2 separate regions of the Homo sapiens genome follow, and region 1 is linked to region 2. The links are contacts of gene promoters, found by promoter capture Hi-C in human tissues and cell types (Jung and others, 2019). All regions are on one chromosome and are shown on one strand. The core of a region is centred on a gene start or on the middle of the fragment in contact, and the rest is flanking DNA. Distances in the headings are between cores, read along the strand shown. Region 1 overlaps CNBP (CCHC-type zinc finger nucleic acid binding protein). Region 2 holds the start of COPG1 (coat protein complex I subunit gamma 1).

Region 1 (2,700 bases), core at 143-2,642, 81 kb after region 2:
TAGTGCAAAATACCATATTAAAGAGGGGAATGTGGAGGACTGAAAGCTGACAGTTTGGACTTTTCTTTTTGTACTTAAGTCATGTCTTCAATAATGAAAATTGCTGTTAAAAGGATGTATGGGATTTAGATACTTTTGCAAAGCTATAGAAAATTCACTTTGTAATCTGTTATAATAATGCCCTTGAGTTCTGTGTTCAGTCTGAACAGGTTTTTTGGTGGTGGTGGTTTTGTTTTGTTTTGGAGACGGAGTCTCACTCTTGTCGCCCAGGCTGGAGTGCAGGCTTGGCTCACTGCAACCTCCACCTCCCGGGTTCAAGCAATTCTCCTGCCTCAGCCTCCTGAGTAGCTGGGATTACAGGCACCCGCCACCACCCCCCGCTAATTTTTTGTATTTTTATTTTTATTTTATTTTTTTATTTTTTTTTGAGACAGAGTGTCGCTCTGTTGCCCAGGCTGGAGTGTAGTGGTGCGATCTCGGCTCACTGCAAGCTCCGCCTCCTGGGTTCGTGCCATTCTCCTGCCTCAGCCTCCTGAGTAGCTGGGGCTACAGGTACCCGCCACCGCGCCCAGCTAATTTTTTTTTTTTGTATTTTTAGTAAAGACGGGGTTTCACGGTGTTAGCCAGGATGGTCTCAATCTCCTGACCTCGTGATCCGCCCGCCTTGGCCTCCCAAAGTGCTGGGATCACAGGCGTGAGCCACCGCGCCCGGCCTATTTTTTGTATTTTTAGTAGAGACTGGGTTTCATCATGTTGGTCGGGCTGGTCTCCAACTCCTGACCTCAGGTGATCCACCTGCCCCGCCCCCCAAAGTGCTAGTGTTACAGGTGCGAGCCACCGTGTCTGGCCGATTCTGAACAGTTTTAATACCATTGCTATTTTTGTGTTTTTCCTGGGCCTTTTTTTTTTTTTTTTTTTTTTTTGAGACAGTCTCGCTCTGTTGCCCAGGCTAGAGTGCAATGGTGCAATCTCAGCTCACTGCAACCTCCACCCCCCACCCCCACACCCCGTTCAAGTAATTCTCCTGCCTCAGCCTCCCAAATAGCTGGGATTACAGGTGTCCGCCACCACACCCAGCTAATTTTTGTTATTTTTAGTAGAGATGGGGTTTCACTGTGTTGGTCAGGCTGGTCTCCAACTGTTGCCCTCAGGTGAGCCACTGTGCCCCACCTTTTCCTGGGTTTCATAAGGATCTGAAGTGGTGGATTCCTTGTTTTTGCTAGTGTCTCATTTAGAGTTGAGATGGACCTTAAAACTCATCTGTTTTAACTCACTTTTTAATAGATGAGTTAAACTTAATTTACTTAAGGATGTACAGTTAGAGCCTGGAACTTCAACCATTATTCACTCCCCATGCCCTGTTTCCCCCCACTTCGAAATTAAATGCGGTTAGCATCATATAGTTCATTTTCCCCCTCCATGCTGCTGTGTGATTCTTGACTTTGGGTATGAGTTTTTCATCCTTCATGCAGGGTTCTGTCAGTTCATGGTATAGTGATTCAGTGTTAAAATGGTGGTGTCTCAGCTGTGCTGTGCACATTCCAACCTTGTCAAATTAATAGTCCTGAGCAAGCAAGAAAAAGAGGTAATAACATACCCATTTCTTTATGAATATAAGCTTATAATATTTTTTCATGTGCTATTTTTACTGAGCAAATTGTATGTCTCACATGTTAACACAATAAATATCTTGACAATTTTATTTTCTACCATATGTATGAAACAGCATAAGGAAAGACTTTTTTTCGAAGGCATCACTGTTAGGTTGGGGGAAAGATTTATTTTTGAAGGCATCACTGTTAAATGAGGTTTGGGGGCTGGTGTGCACATGGAGTTATTTCCCCCCAAATTCTGGGCCTCATGTAGGAAAACCTAAAACATAGCAAATGGGATATGTTGTTATGGCTCTTCAGGTCAGCTTAGTTCTCATTAATAATACTTTCTCCTGCGTTAATCACAGCTTTGTGTGTTGGGAAGGGAAAAAGTAAAGTGGGTTGGTTAAAATTTAGAACTCCTTTGCTTCATGCACCCATTCCTTGTGCTGAATTTGTAGTACTTTAGTTGCTTTGTGAGACCTTTTGAAACAACATAATTAAGGACCTATTCACAGGAGACTACAAAGTGTTCCTTTATAAGATAAAATTTATTTGCATTGACCTTGATGACTGGAAAGCAAATGCAACATGAAAATGTGTATTTTACAGAGAAATCCGGCTAACTAAAAGGAGTCACACTGGGCGTGGTGGCTTATTCCTGTGATCCCAGCACTTTGGGAAGCCAAGACGGGTGGATCATGAGGTCAGGAGTTCGAGACCAGCCTGGCTGACATGGGGAAACCCTTGTCTCTACTGAAAATGCAAAAATTAGCCAGGTGTGGTGTCACACGCCTTGATTCTCAGCTACTCAGGAGGCTGAGGCAGGAGAATACCTCGAACCAGGAGGCAGAGGTTGCAGTGAGCCAAGATTGGCGCCATTGCGCTCCATTCTGGGGAACAGACAGACTCCGTCTCAAAAAAAAAAAAAAACAGTACAATGAACCCCCCATGTGTTCTCGATCTAGAGTTAACAATAGTTTGAAAGTAAGTTATAGACGTGACATCACTTTATCATGCATCTTATAAGATGTTCTCATTACCACAGTACCATTATCATACTTAATGTATCTAAACATTCCCTAGTATCTGATATCTAATACTATAT
Region 2 (2,700 bases), core at 42-2,541:
ACTCTCTCCAGAAACAAAGTTTTCCTGTCTTCCAGAAAACTTCCAGGCACAAGTTTTCTCCCGTGTTGCTCTTTAAAACAACACTTTGAATGTGTTGGTATTTCAGTTGCATTGGTGGTGAATATTTATGATGGAAGCTAGAGGGGAGCAAATGTCACTTGCCTCCTGGAGTACCGCACTCTTCTCAAGGTGCTGGAATGGGTTGGAGCCTCCACCTACGGTCAAGGACAATGGAGAAGGTAGGTTGTGACTCTGAACTTCAAAACTCTCCCAGACATAGGTAAAGGGAAGATGTCCCTTCCTAGGAAATCTAGTAAAGTTCAAACTCCTCAGGAATGGCAATCAAGCCTCTACAATCTGTCTAGGGATCCTACTAGTCTCCTGCAAGCAGGTGGGCTCCACTCTACCCCAAACCACTCACAATCTCCCAGCAGCCCTGGTACAGTCCTGTGCTTCTCATGGTGCCATGTCTTGTGTTCATTTATATAACTTGTAATTAACTAAGTCCCTATGTGCCAGGGACCACCATCTCGTTGTAACTAGTTCCTTCATAGCAGATGACACATTTGCAAATAATTACACGTGTGATTATCTGGTTGATGTCTGCCTCCTCCATCGTGGGTGCAACCATTCTAATATTCCTAGCTCAGGCACTGAGTGTCCCACTTGCTCTGTTGCAGTATCCAGGACACCGTACAGTACCTGGCATACAGTAACTGCTCAATATACTTTGCTGAATAAATGAATGATGGGGTCAGAGTTCCCAGTCACAGGACGCTGGCTCCGCAGGTTACACCCCAGTTTGGCCAGCACCAACGTAGCCCCAGCGAATCCCAAGAGGTTGGACGAAGAAAGTAACAAGAGAACATTCGGCATGGTCCCCTCCTTTGACAGATGGGTAAATTGAGGCCTGGGGGGGGGGGTGTTTGTCGCGCCCAAGGTCACCCAGAAAATTGCAGTCCGAGCTTACAAGAGTGAGACAGCCGCGCATGCTCGGGCTCTCCGAGGCCTGCCACTGACTAGCTGTGGACCCTGGCACAAGCCCCTGCCCCTCACTGGGCCTCAGCCTCCGGGTCAGGACAGAGAACCAGAAGGAAAGCTCGGCGGGTGGGGGTCCGGCCTCCCTCAGACCCAGGCCTGGCCCCCTCACCTGACTCCTCATCCTTCTTGTCGAATTTCTTCAACATAGTGGAGTCGGTGGGGCGCAATGCAGCAACGCAATGCTCGACGGGCGCGGCACGGAGTAGCGGTGCCACAGTGGTTCTACAGGGACCACTTCCGGGCCCCGACTGGCCACGTCGCCCAGCGCTCTGCGCAGGCGCATTCCGCGCTCTGCGCCTGCGCTCTTTCCGGTAGCCACAGCCTCGTCTAATGTTAACCTTAGCTCCGCCGGAGCGGGAGTGGGGAAAGCCAGACGGAGGGGCAAGGGCTAGGTGCAGGGGGGTACTGACTAGCATCCCAACTCTGCTCCCTACGCTTCTTTCCGTATACCAAGGGAGGAGGAGGAGCCCCTGCCTCGTTGCGTTGTGGCGTGAGTCTTTGTGGCTTTCGGGTGTGAGGTTGGTGGCACACACTGGCCCGCAGTAAACACCCAATTGATGTGACCGGTCTATGACTGTTATTGCCACCTTCCGAAGGAGCCTTGCCAGCCACTCACTCCTCGCTTTCAGATTCTTTCCCCTGCCTGATTTCCTCCTCAGCTCGAATCGCCATCTAACACTTTATTTTTACTTTCTGGCTTTTATTTGTTTATTTATTTCTCGTTCTGCTGCCCAGGCTGTGGTGCAGTTGTGCGATCCTGGCTCACTGCAGCCTACAGTTCCTGGGCTCAAGCGATCCTCCCACCTCAGCCTCCCGAGTAGAGCTGGGCGCACCACCCCCGACTAATTTTTTAATTTTTGTAGAGACGAGGTCTCACTATGATGTTGCCCAGTCTGGTCTTGAACTCGTGGCCTCAAGCGATCCTCCTTTCTCGACCTTCCAAAGTGCTGGGATTACAGCGGTGAGCCACTGCACCCGGCCACTTTCTTGCTCTTTTGTTTTTTTTTTTGTTATTTGCTTGTTTGTTTGTCTTTTATTCACTGCAGTGGATAATGTTGGCACATAGTAGTTGCTCAGTGAGTTCTCGTTGAATGAATGCGTGCAATTGCATTTTTAATTTATATCTGCCGGGCCCTATCTCGTCTGCTCCTGATGCAAATTGCCTTGTACATTATCAACCTTAAGAGATCTAACTAAACAGCATAGAACTTCTACGTTATTTTGTAAATACTTTGGATATTTATGGAGTGCCAACTAGATGCGCTGCCTACGCGGGGAGGTGGGGGGAAGGGCGTGGGAAGGAACGGAAAGGGGAAAATGACACATCACCCAGGGTTTATCTTCCTGGGGACCTATGCAGGACACCCTGAGGCTAAGGTAAGCACAGTGCATGCCAGTGAGCCAGATTGCATTGGCAATGGCAAAGTCGTGATGGCCAAGCGCTGCGACACGGCCCCAGCTTGCCTGGGGAGGGGAAGCCCGCAGGCCTGTGGGCAGGAGAAGGAGTGGGCTGTGGAGAGGAGAGGCAGGAGGCTGAGGCAGAGGCCCCAGGTGAAAAGGGTGACCGCAAAGCTGGAGGAAGGGAGATGTCAGAGGGGCCAGCCCTTAGGGTCTGGCTTTGCAGAGGCTAGGGCCAAGGACAACAGATCTTGTGACATG

What was found. Contacts are between HindIII fragments. The study calls those that stand out against the background at their distance.
Region 1: a contact is called between a fragment that was not itself captured here and the fragment with the promoter of COPG1 in region 2, in 2 of the 25 tissues and cell types used here (bladder and mesenchymal stem cells).

The regions. Positions count from the first base shown.
Region 1 is chr3:129,166,829-129,169,528 of GRCh38, reverse strand. CNBP (CCHC-type zinc finger nucleic acid binding protein) reads left to right here. Exons shown (of 5, transcript NM_003418.5): 5 at 1-1,702. Among named protein-coding and RNA genes, the nearest start is that of ISY1-RAB43, 7.1 kb to the right of the region's middle. The HindIII fragment of the contact is 4,446 bases long and covers 1-2,700 here.
Region 2 is chr3:129,248,197-129,250,896 of GRCh38, reverse strand. It overlaps COPG1 (coat protein complex I subunit gamma 1), which reads right to left and starts at 1,291. Exons shown (of 24, transcript NM_016128.4): 1 at 1,151-1,291; 2 at 163-215. The coding sequence starts at 1,187. The HindIII fragment of the contact is 12,995 bases long and covers 1-2,700 here.